Regions from separate parts of the Homo sapiens genome. Here regions 1, 2, 4 and 5 are each linked to region 3. Evidence: promoter capture Hi-C in 16 types of primary human blood cells and fetal thymus (Javierre and others, 2016). All regions are on one chromosome and are shown on one strand. Each heading gives the region's core, a stretch centred on a gene start or on the middle of the fragment in contact. The rest is flanking DNA. Distances are from core to core; before and after follow the strand shown. Region 1 overlaps EEIG2 (EEIG family member 2). Region 2 has its middle 15 kb from the start of HENMT1. Region 3 holds the start of VAV3-AS1 (VAV3 antisense RNA 1). Region 4 overlaps HENMT1 (HEN methyltransferase 1). Region 5 holds the start of PRMT6 (protein arginine methyltransferase 6).

Region 1 (2,700 bases), core at 183-2,682, 600 kb before region 3:
CAATGAGCTATCATCGTGCCACTGCACTCAAGCCTGTCTAGCCTGGGCAACAGAGTAACTGCCTCTAAAAAGAATAATCAGCATCATCATCTAGATGACCCATCCTCCTAACGAGGAATAACATTCCTGACAAATGGATGAGGTCATTCAACTGTTAGTAGTACTGAGGTAGTCTACTCACTATTTTACTCTCCTAAATGTTAGAACTTATTTGTTTTAATGTTATACTGAATAGAAACATGCCTTCTTTAACATCTCCCCACTGGTCCTAGTTCTGTCCTCAGCTGCACCCAGCATAGTCTATTCCTTCTTTATGGCACAATTTTTCAAATATCTTTCATTAGTTGATATGTGACTTTGAACAAATTATTTTCTAAGGATCAACTTTCTCATGTCTAAAAGAGTGGTATGACAGAGGCTAATTATCCTGATATCTGTCCTCTCCTCCCTTTATTCTAATTCAGTGTTTCGTTAGGCATACAGGCACCCAGCAAAAACTAAATTTCTCAACCTTGGGGCTGGATGTGGCATGGTGCTGATGTTCTGGTCAATGGACTGTGAGCACAAGGGACCTTCCCTTCCCCTCTCCTCCTTCCCAGTGGCTGGAATTCGGATGTGGGGTGAGCCAAGTCAGTCCCTGTGGATGAGAACAATACCCTGAGAGCAATAAGACAAAAAGAGTCCAGGCCCCTGACAACTGGACAGAGCACAGCTACCACACTAGGTTGGACTTCATATGAAAGAGAAGTAAACTTCTATCTTGGTTAAGCCAGTTATTTTTTAAAAATACCTTGTTATAGCACCTGACATCCATTCTAAATCAAAAACAGGTGACAATGGTTTCCTACTTCTATTAAAGGGGTTTTGTAAGAATCAAATAAAATTAGGAATGTAAAATATACATATATACAAGTCAATTTTTTAGTATTTGAAGACCATTATCTTCTCTCAAGACTAACCCCAGTCTCCTGTTATTAGCATAATTCAAGATTCTTAAGAATCCGAATATCTTCCTTGGACCTCCATTTGATAACCCTCAAAGGCCTGCACCCCAAACCGAACATAATTTTTTACAAGCTGTGTAGATAAAACATGATCTACTTCCCCATATATTTAATTTAGTGATCTCTGTATGTGTGTCATCTTTAGCAAAACTACAACAGATCTTTTCTCCCAATATTTGCTTTCTTTCAATATTTACAAAATGCTGGCTATGTAAGGCTCAGTGATACAGTGGTGAATATTAACTTACTGGTGTAAAATGGCATTAATACTATTTTTATAAGATATGACTATCCAATAATGTGACTAAATTTTGTGAACTTAGTTGTACAAAGCCACATCTTGAAAAAAAAAGTGGCATGAGTACCATTTTTCTTTTCTTTTGTTTTCTTTTCTTTTTTTTTGAGACAGAGTCCTGCTCCATCACCCATGCTGGAGTGCAGTGGTGTAATCATGGCTCATTGCAGCTTCAATCTCCCAAGCTCAAGAGATTCTCCCACCTCAGTCTCCCTGAGTAGCTGGGAACACAGGTGCATGCCACGAAACCCAGCTAATTTTTAAATTTTCTTCAAAGACAGGGTCTCACTATGTTGCCCAGGCTGTTCTTGAATTTCTGGGCTCAAGCCACCCTCCTGCTTCAGTCTTCCAAAGTGCTGGGATTACAGGCATGAGCCCATAAAAATGCCTCGCTGCATTTTACTTATCTTTCATATACAATTGCCTCAGGGAAAATCTAAAGGGGCCAGGTCTTGTAACCTGTTTAGTGATGTCACATATTGGAACCAGTTTTCTGAAACTGACATTCAGAAAAAGTTATACTACATATATTTACCTACCATTTTTATAAAACATAAAAATGAGAAAGCATACAACACAAAGCCTGAAAGGCAGTAGAATTTAGTGATTAACAGTGGTCCTTGGAGCTAGAATGCCTCCTAGCTCTACCACTTACTAGCTGAGTAACTTTTAGCATCTCTTTGTGCTTCTGTTTCCCCAGGTATAAAATGAGAGTAATAGCAGCAATAATGGCAAGGGCACTAATAATGGTAATGACGTAATAATAGCACCTTCCTCACGGGAATATCTTGAAGATTAAATGTAAAGGCTTAGAAAAGTTCCTGACGCACTGGGAAAGTGCTCAAATAAATGTCAGCTACTATTATTACAGGTATTATAATAATGTGAATTGATGACTCCATTTCTGGTCAGGGTATAAGGAATTTTTTAATTAAAAAATTTTTTATTTTAATTACTTAACTATATTAAAATATAGTTGACAAAAATTGTATATACTTACTGTGTACTATGTAATGTTTTGATATGTGTATATATTGTGAAATTGCTAAACCAAGCCAATTAACATAGCCATCAACTCACATATTTATTTTTTTTGCTGTTGGAGAACACTTATGATCTATTCTCTTAGCAATTTTCAAGTATAATACATTATTATTAACTATAGTCAGCATTCTGTACAACAGATCTGAACATATCCATGCCACCTAATTGAAACTTTGTGCCCTATGACCAACAGTTCCCCATCTCTCCGTGCCCTCACCCACTATGAGTTCACCTTTTTTATATCCCACATATATGTGAGATGATGCAGTATTTGCCTTTCTGTGCCTGGCTTATTTCATTTTAAACAAAAGTCCTCCAGGTTCATCCATGTTGTCACAAATGACAGGATTTCCTTTT
Region 2 (2,700 bases), core at 186-2,685, 710 kb before region 3:
ACCTGAAGCCAACTTTATACAATATTTTATTTAAAAATTTTTCAATTTGTAATTTTTATGAGTACCTAGAAGGTGTATATATTTATGGAGTACATGAGATATTTTGACACAGGCATGTAATGCATAATAATCACATTATGGAAAATGGGGTATCCATCCCTTCAAGCATTTATCCTTTATGTTACAAACTATTTATTTATTTATTTATTTATTTATTTATTTATTCATTGAGACAGAGTCTGACTCTGTCACCCAGGCTGGAGTGCAGTGACATGATCTCAGCTTATTGCAACCTCTGCCTCCTGGGCTCAAGTGATTCTTGTGCCTCAGCCTCCCGAGTAGCAGGAATTACAGGTGTGTGCCACCACATCCGGCTAATTTTTGTATTTTTAGTAGAGATGGGGCTTTGCCATATTGGCCAGGCTGATCTCAAACTCCTGACCTCAAGTGATCTGCCCGCCTTGGCCTCTCAATGTGCTAGGATTACAGGCATGCGCCACCATGCCCAGCCATCCATTTATACTCTTAATTATTTTAAAATGTACATAGTATTAGTTCTTTAAATATTTGGTGGAATTCAGCAGTGAAGCCAGCAGGTCCTGGGCTTTTCTTTATTGGGAATTTTTTTTCTTTTTTTGTAGAAGGAAGGGCTTTATTCAGCTGGGAGCATCGGCAAGCTACTGCCTTAAAATCCGAGCTCCCCGAATGCACAATTTCTGTCCCTTTTTTTATTTTATTTTATTTTATTTTTATTGATAATTCTTGGGTGTTTCTCACAGAGGGGGATTTGGCAGGGTCATGGGACAATAGTGGAGGGAAGGTCAGCAGATAAACAAGTGAACAAAGGTCTCTGGTTTTCCTAGGTAGAGGACCCTGCGGCCTTCCGCAGTGTTTGTGTCCCTGATTACTTGAGATTAGGGAGTGGTGATGACTCTTAACGAGCATGCTGCCTTCAAGCATCTGTTTAACAAAGCACATCTTGCACCGCCCTTAATCCATTTAACCCTGAGTGGACACAGCACATGTTTCAGAGAGCACAGGGTTGGGGGTAAGGTCACAGATCTACAGGATCCCAAGGCAGAAGAATTTTTCTTAGTGCAGCACAAAATGAAAAGTCTCCCATGTCTACTTCTTTCTACACAGACACGGCAACCATCCGATTTCTCAATCTTTTCCCCACCTTTCCCCCCTTTCTATTCCACAAAACCGCCATTGTCATCATGGCCCATTCTCAATGAGCTGTTGGGCACACCTCCCAGACGGGGTGGTGGCCGGGCAGAGGGGCTCTTCACTTCCCAGTAGGGGCGGCCGGGCAGAGGCGCCCCTCACCTCCCGGACGGGGCGGCTGGCCGGGCGGGGGGCTGACCCCCCACCTCCCTCCCGGACGGGGCGGCTGGCCGGGCAGAGGGGCTCCTCACTTCCCAGTAGGGGCGGCCGGGCAGAGGCGCCCCTCACCTCCCGGACGGGGCGGCTGGCCGGGCGGGGGGCTGACCCCCTCACCTCCCTCCCGGATGGGGCGGCTGGCCGGGCGGGGGGCTGACCCCCCCCCACCTCCCTCCCGGACAGGGTGGCTGCCGGGCGGAGACGCTCCTCACTTCCCAGATGGGGTGGCTGCCGGGCAGAGAGGCTCCTCACTTCTCAGACGGGGCAGCTGCCGGGCGGAGGGGCTCCTCACTTCTCAGACGGGGTGGTTGCCAGGCAGAGGGTCTCCTCACTTCTCAGACGGGGCGGCCGGGCAGAGGCGCTCCTCACATCCCAGATGGGGTGGCGGGGCAGAGGCGCTCCCCACATCTCAGAGGATGGGCGGCCGGGCAGAGACGCTCCTCACTTCCTAGATGTGATGGCGGCCGGGCGGAGACGCTCCTCACTTTCCAGACTAGGCAGCCAGGCAGAGGGGCTCCTCACATCCCAGACGATGGGCGGCCAGGCAGAGACACTCCTCATCTCCCAGACGGGATGGTGGCCGGGCAGAGGCTGCAATCTCGGCAGTTTGGGATGCCAAGGCAGGCGGCTGGGAGGTGGAGGTTGTAGCCAGCCGAGATCACGCCACTGCACTCCAGCCTGGGCACCATTGAGCACTGAGTGAACGAGACTCCGTCTGCAATCCCGGCACCTCGGGAGGCCGAGGCTGGCGGATCACTCGCGGTTAGGGGCTGGAGACCGGCCCGGCCAACACAGCGAAACCCCGTCTCCACCAAAACCAGTCAGGCGTGGCGGCACGTGCCTGCAATCGCAGGCACTCGGCAGGCTGAGGCAGGAGAATCAGGCAGGGAGGTTGCAGTGAGCCGAGATGGCAGCAGTACAGTCCAGCTTCGGCTCCGCATGAGAGGGAGACCTTGGAAAGAGAGGGAGACCGTGGGGAGAGGGAGACGGAGAGGGAGAGGGAGAGGTAGAGGGAGAGCGGGAAACTTTTTATTACATCTTCGATCTCATTACTTGTTATTGATCTATTCAGGATTTGGATTTCTTCATGATTCAATCTTGGTGAGTCATGTCTAGGAATTATCCATACCTCTAGATTCTCTAGTTTATTGGCATATAGTTGCTAATAGTAGCCACTAATGATCCTTTGAATTTCTGTGGTATCAGTGGTAATGTCTCCTTTTTTGTCTCTGATTTTATTTGGGTCTTCTCCCTTTTTTTCTGTTAGTCTGGCTAAAGGTTTGCCAATTTTGTTTATCTTTTTAAAAAAAACCCAAC
Region 3 (2,700 bases), core at 63-2,562:
TCGCGAGGAAATAGGCTCAGGGATCGGGGCGGTTTCCGCAGGCGTCTCCACACACGCACTCTCACTCACTTTGAGGGTGCCAAAACACCACTAGGGGCAACTAGGAGGAATAGGCTGAGGAATCAGCTATAGAGAATGGAGGGGATAGAGCTGCAAGGGGCGAGGGGGCGACGATCTCTAAAACTTTCAGCGCCGTGCTCTACTGATGCTCTAGGCACTTTTTTCATTGCTCTGGGGAGTCTGGGTGCCCCAATTAATCCGTCGCTCCTTTGAGCATTTGTTGTTTAGGGGGTCCTGGGGGACCCCATCGTATTACAGTATTCAGCCACACTCCCCGCAAAGCCGGGAAGCCGCCCCGAGAGAAGACCCCAGGACGCCGGGGGCTGCGTGAGCCCCGCAAGGCTGCAGGCGGGGGCGCGGGATCCCCTTTCTGGCCGCCGCCCCCCTCCGCCGGCCCCTCCCCCGCGCCCCGCCCTCGGCCACAGACCCCAGCCCCGGCCGCCGGCGCGCTCCCACCCGCGCGTCTGGGGACTTGCGGACCGCAGCGAGACCGGCCGGCGTGCTGGGCATGCTCAGTGGCGGGCCGGGCGCTGGAGTCGGAAGCCTGTGCGCGGCAGCCGCCGCCGAGCCGGCCGGGGCGCACGGAGAGCGCGCGGGACTCGCTGCAGCGGCGGCCGGGTCGCGGCGCACCCGGGCCGGGACCGGAGCCGAGCCTAGCGCGGCGCCCGCGACCCGTCAGCCGCGGCTCCTGCTCCCTCGATCCCGCGCGGGGAAAGGGCCGGCGGCTGTTGGCGTCGGCGGGGCGCGGAGGAACCGCGGCGGCGGCGGCGGCGGCCGCATCCTTGCCGCCCGCCCCGGCCCAGCCGCGTCCCGGAGCCGTCGGGCATGGAGCCGTGGAAGCAGTGCGCGCAGTGGCTCATCCATTGCAAGGTGCTGCCCACCAACCACCGGGTGACCTGGGACTCGGCTCAGGTGTTCGACCTTGCGCAGACCCTCCGCGATGGAGTCCTGCTCTGCCAGCTGCTTAACAACCTCCGGGCGCACTCCATCAACCTGAAGGAGATCAACCTGAGGCCGCAGATGTCCCAGGTGAGGAGGCCGGCACGGGCGCCCCGCCTCCAGCCGGCAGCTCCCATTAATCATGCGGCTAATTTCTTTGTGTAAATGCAAACGTCTAGGTGCGCTGAGCTTGCCCTGCTTCCCAGCCTTCTGCTTTGGGACCACTTCGGCACCACTTTGGCGTTTCCTACCTTGGCTTGAAATGGTTTAGCTCCTCAAGCTGAATGCGAAAGCTTTGCGTCCGGAGATGGTGTGAGGATTTCGTAAAGGCTTTCTGTGAGGCGGGAAAGAAATAAGTTGTCTTAGGGTGCCCTTCACCTACTCTGCGTGTGTGTGGCGCGACAAAGGGAATTTGATCAAGCTCTTCTATAATAACGAAGGGGAGGGACGAAACGAGGTGATGGGGTAATTTGCCTTTAGTCTCTTCTTTTGCTTTGCGTCTTGTACTCATGTTTTCCTAAAAGAGGAACCATGACATACATGAGGACTCGAGGAAGTGAAGGGCGTTTGGTCCCGTTATCTGTCCAGGAGTGACATTGGTCAAAGGGAAGAACAGGGAGCAGAACCCGGAGGCCGCCCCCAGGGCCCCTGAGCTGGTGGCCAGCCGGCAAGCTCCCGTTTACAGCTCTTCCTAAGCCATGTGAGAAGGAGCGAGTCCAGCCTCTCTCAGCAGCGACAGGAAATGAGAAGTTTCACTAGAGATTCCGCTTTCCTTCCTGCAGTGCCCTGCTCAGGTGCTGTGGTGCCGGTCGGCTCCTGGGGCTGGAGCTGCCTCTTTGAGGGTTAAGCCAGACACCTCTGGAAGGTTGGGTGCACCCTAGAGTCAGCTCAAAAGTCACAGTTCAGTGGAAGAGTAGTTTATTTGTCCTGTCGGAAAATTTTTGTACAGAAGGATGTTAAACTCGGTTCAGAGCCTCTTTCTCTTTCAGAATGTTAAAACAAAACAAAAAACCAAACTGCTTTCAACTTAAAAGGGAGAGGACAGAGCCCTCTCCCTGACACATTTCAGCACTAATCCTCTATGACGCAGAGCCTCAGCTACTTAGCAACCAGAGCAGCGCCTTTTAAGAAGGAACGGACTTTATATGATTTAATAAGTATGTATTTAAAGTTAGAGCACACACAGTCATCTGTGATTCTTGGTGTCAGTGTTTCATCAGGGTCCCCTGCACTTCAGATTCTGCATTCCTTGCCTGTTTGCCTTCAACCTGCTGGTGGGCAGTCCCTAAGAAAGAACAGGCATGGAAGTGGGGAGAGCCATACGTATTTAAAAGTGAGGTAAATTATTTTATACCCCCATAAACATGCATGGTGATTGCTACCTCTCGGTACCCCTTCAGAGTTGTCTCAACTCTGGAAATTCCTTTGAGGGGTTTGGCAGACTTTTCTATTATGGTGGGAGCTGCAGTTAGCTACTCTCACACATCCCCATTTTCCACTTTGCCTGTAGCCTCAGGAGGCAGCGTGGGTCAGGATGCCTTGGCCCACCAGTAGGGAGTACAGTACTGTGCACATTTCCTGGAACTTGTTTCCTGGAACTCTCAGCAGTTGCTCTCAATAATCACGTTTTCTGGACAGCTGAAGACCTTTTTAAACCTCGAAGCCTTTATTTGAATGCTAACAATGGATGAGAATCGTTTT
Region 4 (2,700 bases), core at 15-2,514, 690 kb before region 3:
TTTAGTGGATCAACATGAGCCTAAGAAGGTAGGTATTTCTCTTTCCAAACATTTAATTATTAAGACTAGTAGACTAGTCATATGAGGTGTTTTGTCAAATGGATTAGTATGGAGAGACTTTTCACAGGGGTTATTGCAATAGGGAGAATGCCGTAACCACAAGATCTGCAGGTGTCTCAAGAGTTAAGCAAAAGGGGTTTTTCTTTTACTGGAGAAGTGAACAAAGCTAGAAACTAGGGAGGTGGGATGAGAGGGTGGTTTGAAAGGACAGTGGAATGGGGAGCCTTAAGGAGGGGGCTGTTTCCTCAGGCTGTAGTGCAGGGCCCTGGGGGAAGAAGTAAAGTTTGAATAAAGTATGGTTAAAAAAGGAATTTTCTTCCCATTGATCAGTGGGGACAAGTATTCATGATAATCATTTGAGGCAAAGAATGGAAACACAAGGAATCTTATCTAAGTTTTATGGAGGAGGGTGGTTTTTTGCAGTGAGCCCTTTCCTGGAACACAAAGCACAGGTGGATTCCTTTAGCAGATGCCAGAAACACAGGGCTCAGACAGAATTCAGCATTGTCAGGTTCAAATGTGAAGAAAATCTTAAGATTTTATAGTTGGATGTGATCTTGTAGGTACCGTACTTCTAGAGCATTTAGTTAGAATATCAGGCAAACTGGTATTGTAGCCACAGGTATTGTGGTTCTTTTAAAATTAGATGATAATGGGCCGGGTGCAATGGTTTACACCTGTAATTCCGGCACTTTGGGAGGCTGAGGCAGGTGGCTAGCTTGAGACCAGCCTGGCACCATAGTGAGACCCTGTGTCTACAAAAAATAAAATTAGCTGTGCATGGTGGTGCGTGCCTATAGTCCCAGTTACTCAGGAGGCTGAGGTGGGAGGATCCCTTGAGCCCAGGAGGTTGAGGCTGCAGTGAGCTGTTATCACCTGCATTCCAGCCTGGGCAACAGAGAAAGAGCCCGTCTCAAAAAGAAAATTAGATCATAATGAACCTACTCGGTTAACTTCAGAGTAAAGTCATAATTGCATATAATCTACATCCATCCATCCATACCTGGTTACTATACTAATGGATTGGATGTGAATTAGATGCGGGTAAGGTGAATTTCTAGATGAAAGCTTTCTTTTTCTGCTTGATGTTGAAGACTCAGTGAAGATTCCTGTGTGTGAAGGTTTCCCTTAACTCCACCACTACTGTTTCTACACTTGGACACAAAGGCGTAGGTATTAGTTTATATCTTTGTAGCCATCTAGGCATGTGTATTCAGGTAAAGCATCTAAAATTGGCTTTTTGGCAGCTCAGAGTTCAGTATGGAATTTCAGATGGTTTGAGGTAATTGTTTAATCAAATAAATGTGTGAGGGGTGAAAGCTAAGTTTTAGAAAGCTTTGTTTGCTGAAATATGCTGAGAATATTTGACTCCAAATTCTGATTCTGAATGGGAAAACTGTGTGTACGTAATTGTTTCTCATTAGTTCAATATAGACAATAACAGTTGTTCTGGAATAGGAATGGACCTTTCTATTTTAGTGTGATCAAATAGAAATTTGCCTATGGGCTTATAAAGTTTCAGGTTAGTGTGTGTGTGTGTGTGTGTGTGTGTGTGTGTGTGTGTGTGTGTAGCATCTTCTGCCAAAAAGATCCTTCCATATAATACTTTCATTATTTTATTACTGATATATACTCCACTCTCTCCTCCTCAAAAAAAAGTTTTTGATCATACTTCTCTTGCTATAAATGTCTTTGAAATAACATTCTGTCTCATCTACAGGTTGCAGACCTGGGATGTGGTGATACTTCACTCTTAAGGCTGCTAAAAGTCAATCCATGCATTGAATTGCTTGTTGGAGTAGATATTAATGAGGATAAATTACGATGGAGAGGGTAATACTTAGTTTCTGAAAGAATTATGCGTTAATCTAAAACTAATGGCATTATTGAGTTTAGAGAAAGTGTTGATTTTATATTTGTTTTAAAAGATTGGGGCCATTAGGGATCTTCAACTCACTGAATAATCAGGCTTTGCCATAACACTAAAAATACCTGCATTTTATTGCTACCAACTTAAAGAATAGCCTCAATTAAATGATTATAATAATCAAAGCATTGTAAATTAAAATTCAGATAGCAAAATCTCATCACTTTAATGCTGGACACTATGATAATTTATAGCAGAGGATTTAAAATGCCCCAGAACACTGAGGCCAAGGCTCCAGGCCACCGCCTGCATTTTGAACCATAGCATTTCTCCTATCTCTTGTATATATAGTATATATACATTAGATTTCCACAGATTGCTTCAAGAATATTCTTTTTCTAAAGAACAAAAATCTCAAAATCACTGAATCAAAGTAAGCTGGAAAACCAAAAGTATTACAAATGAAAACAATATAACAATATTAAATATTCAGTCTTTTTTTCATTGGCCAGTAACTTCCCACTGTGAGAGGAAGTTTCCCCATGACCTGGTCTTTAATATGTCAAGACAAGGAAAACAGGCTGTGTCAGACTTATATCAATAGAGGTAGAAGATAATTATCAGAGGATCTGAGTTCTGTAGCTGGTGAGAATTTTTAAATAGATAATGTTCAGAAAGTTTCTTCAATAATTATTTTGCAGGGATTCGTTAGCTCCTTTCCTGGGGGATTTTCTGAAACCTCGGGATCTGAATTTGACCATCACATTGTATCA
Region 5 (2,700 bases), core at 148-2,647, 910 kb after region 3:
GCACGCTGTATCCGTTGTTGAGGGGGATCACTTTTTAAGTAAACATCACCAGAAGAATCTCTTCAAATGGAGAATGAAGTCACTCTCCCTCCCTAGAGGCTATGAGGGAAAAGGGGGAGATATTCCCCCTACTTGCACGTGGGATCTCCCTTTCCCCTCCGACCTCGCTACGCCTCTCCCACGCAGGTCAGGCTGCTTTGGGAGGTAGCTGGGAGAAAAGGCAACGCTCAGTCCTCCATGGCAAAGTCTTTGGTCTTCTCCTCCTGGTCTCCCACTTTGTAGCGCAGCAGCACGCGCAGGCGACGGGGGTTGTCCCGGGAGGGCAGCAGCGTGATCTCTCCTGAAACGTCCGTGTCTTGCTCCACTTGCACCGGCTCGTTCAGGTAGAGGAGCGCCTGTTTCCAGTGAGTGGCCGGGTGAAAAGGCGAGGTGGACAGCACCAGGGGTTTCTCCGACTCCCCTCCAGGGAAGGTCACCTGGAACCAGATGGCAAAGCCATGCATGGGCGCCGAGCCATAGCAGCTGCAGCGGAAGCGCCCGCCCACTCCGGCCTCCAGCTCCTGCTCCAAGCCGGCGCGGGAGAGCTCTAGCTGAGCAAAGCGCTGCGGCCGGGCCAGCACGTCCTCGCCGGACAATCCCTGCACAACGATCTCCGAGTGGCCCATGAGACAGCGCGTGGCGAAGCCCTCCAGGCAGCTCATGTCCACACCATAGTGCTGCTTCACCTGGCTCCAGAAGCCCAGGCGCCATTCCAGCATCTGGTCGCTGATGGGGGCTATGAAGAGCTCGGCGGAGGCCGGCAGGAGAAGACCGCCCTCCTTCAGCCACTTGGTTCGCGCGTGGAGGACGGAGCTCAGCATGGACTCGTGCAGGAGTCCGTAGCCCATCCACTCGCTCACGATGGCATCCACCTGTTCCGGCAACTCTACAGTCTCCACTGGTCCCGGCAGGACGTGCACCCGGTCCTCCAGCCCGTTGAACCGCACCACCTCCCGGGCCTGTTGCCAGATGGCGCTGGCCTCTACCGCGTACACGCGCCGGGCCCCGGCCTGGGCACAGAAGATGCTCAGAATGCCGGTGCCCGCGCCCACGTCCAGTACCGTCTTGCCTCGCAGTGCTGCCCAGTTCCGAAGGATACCCAGGCGGTAGGCATCGGTGCGGACGCGGTCCGCGATCATCTCCTCGTGGACCGAAACGTCCGAGTAGCACTCGTAGTACAGCTGGTCCCGTTCCCGCTTAGTCCTCCGGGGTCGCTCCAGGGCCGCCTCCCGCTCCGCGCCATCTTCCTCTTCAGTTCCCTCCCCTCCTTCGCCGCCGCCCCCCGACTCAAGCTTTCTTTTCTTGGGCTGCGACATCTTGGCCGCTCTGCCCGGCTCCCGGCGGGCGTAGCGCGGCACGGCGCGGGCTCCAGGAAACGGGGGCTTCTGGGACTTGTAGTGCGCGCTCGTCCTTCCTACTTCCTGCGGGGTCGCCCGGCCGGCGGCGCGGAAGGTCTCCTGTGCCTGCTCACGGGAGCTGTTTTGTATTGCTCTTCTGGTGTCCTGGCATCCCTTTTCCCACCCACGACGCCCACATTCTGAGATCCTTTCATTCCCCCTCCCACCCTTAGCTCCTCAGTTTTTTGCTTTCACTCCCTTCCTGAAGTAGGCACGCACACTTAAGACTAATAATCCACCTTTGTTTCTTCTGCTGAACTCACCTCTGTTTTTTTTGTTTGTTTTTCTGTTTTTTGTTTTTTTTGAGAGGGAGTTTCGCTCTTGTTTCCCAGGCTGGAGTGCAATGGCGCGATCTCCGCTCACCGCAACCTCCGCCTCCTGGGTTCAAGCGATTCTCCTGCCTCAGCCTCCCGAGTTGCTGGGATTACGGGCGCATGCCACCAGGGCCGGCTAATTTTGTATTTTTGGTAGACGGGGTTTCTCCCTGTTGGTCAGGCTGGTCTCAAACTCGCGACCTCAGGTGATCCGCCCACCTCGGCCTCCCAAAGTGCTGGGATTACAAGCGTGAGCCACCGCGCCCGGCCTAACTCACCTCTGGTTTTATTCCACCGAATTAACATGGCAGCACCATCCACCCACTACCGCCTTAACTGGACAATTGTAGCTCTTAAAGTGCTCCAGCTGTGGCAATTTAGAAACTGCACTACGCATTTCTTTTTTCTGTTTTCAGTGCAGTTAGAGTGCAAATGTAACAAAATTAAAACCTAACAATGCAAAATCTTGGTTCTGATTCCAGTATGACCACTAATTAGTTGAGTGATTTAGGGCAAATAATAGAACTTCTCTGGCCTTTAGTTGCCCATTCACCCACCAGCGAATCTTCATTGCAGTTGGGGAAGAACTAGGTTTCTGGTTCTACTTAGAAGAATAGTTACTTGGCTTTCGGCTCTGCTCTGATAATTCTGTGGCTCTCTTAAGAGTTAAATCCTGAAAAGTGCAGACTCAAGAGCCATGTGATACAAGCAAACTCGTTGCTAGGTGTATTCTATATATATATGCGTTTTTTTCTCTCAGAAATAACGGAATCAATTTCTTTTAATCACTTTCTCAATGCAATTCATTTTTTCCTGTGTTTTCTTGTCCGGGCAATATTGACACTCTCCTCTTTCTCTTATATTTTTCTTGTAGTCAACCATCAGCTGTTACTCTCTTTTTGTTGTCCATAATGGAAATAAAATATGTTTTTAAATATGTGTGGCATCTG

What was found. Contacts are between HindIII fragments. The CHiCAGO score rates a contact against its expected background, and 5 or more counts as called.
Region 1: a fragment that was not itself captured here is called in contact with the fragment with the promoter of VAV3-AS1 in region 3 in 1 of 17 cell types (neutrophils); the score reaches 7.6 in neutrophils.
Region 2: a fragment that was not itself captured here is called in contact with the fragment with the promoter of VAV3-AS1 in region 3 in 1 of 17 cell types (neutrophils); the score reaches 5.6 in neutrophils.
Region 4: a fragment that was not itself captured here is called in contact with the fragment with the promoter of VAV3-AS1 in region 3 in 2 of 17 cell types (M0 macrophages and activated CD4 T cells); the score reaches 6.7 in M0 macrophages.
Region 5: the fragment with the promoter of PRMT6 here is called in contact with the fragment with the promoter of VAV3-AS1 in region 3 in 1 of 17 cell types (fetal thymus); the score reaches 9.1 in fetal thymus.

The regions. Positions count from the first base shown.
Region 1 is chr1:108,566,705-108,569,404 of GRCh38, reverse strand. All of the region lies in intron 1 of EEIG2 (EEIG family member 2), which reads right to left. Among named protein-coding and RNA genes, the nearest start is that of EEIG2, 8.0 kb to the right of the region's middle. RefSeq lists a silencer at 365-580. The HindIII fragment of the contact is 3,399 bases long and covers 1-2,700 here.
Region 2 is chr1:108,674,748-108,677,447 of GRCh38, reverse strand. No RefSeq gene overlaps it. Among named protein-coding and RNA genes, the nearest start is that of HENMT1, 15 kb to the right of the region's middle. The HindIII fragment of the contact is 9,896 bases long and covers 1-2,700 here.
Region 3 is chr1:107,963,055-107,965,754 of GRCh38, reverse strand. VAV3-AS1 (VAV3 antisense RNA 1) reads right to left here and starts at 1,312. Exons shown (of 3, transcript NR_046653.1): 1 at 1,251-1,312. VAV3 (vav guanine nucleotide exchange factor 3) reads left to right here and starts at 575. Exons shown (of 27, transcript NM_006113.5): 1 at 575-1,089. The coding sequence starts at 886. RefSeq lists enhancers at 1-88, 1,435-1,564. The HindIII fragment of the contact is 9,456 bases long and covers 1,295-2,700 here.
Region 4 is chr1:108,654,779-108,657,478 of GRCh38, reverse strand. HENMT1 (HEN methyltransferase 1) reads left to right here. Exons shown (of 8, transcript NM_001102592.2): 3 at 1-28; 4 at 1,781-1,893; 5 at 2,629-2,700. Among named protein-coding and RNA genes, the nearest start is that of HENMT1, 5.0 kb to the left of the region's middle. The HindIII fragment of the contact is 267 bases long and covers 1,131-1,397 here.
Region 5 is chr1:107,055,371-107,058,070 of GRCh38, reverse strand. PRMT6 (protein arginine methyltransferase 6) reads right to left here and starts at 1,397. Exons shown (of 1, transcript NM_018137.3): 1 at 1-1,397. The coding sequence starts at 1,355. The coding sequence ends at 228. RefSeq lists enhancers at 596-805, 816-945, 956-1,095, 1,116-1,165. The HindIII fragment of the contact is 2,330 bases long and covers 1,334-2,700 here.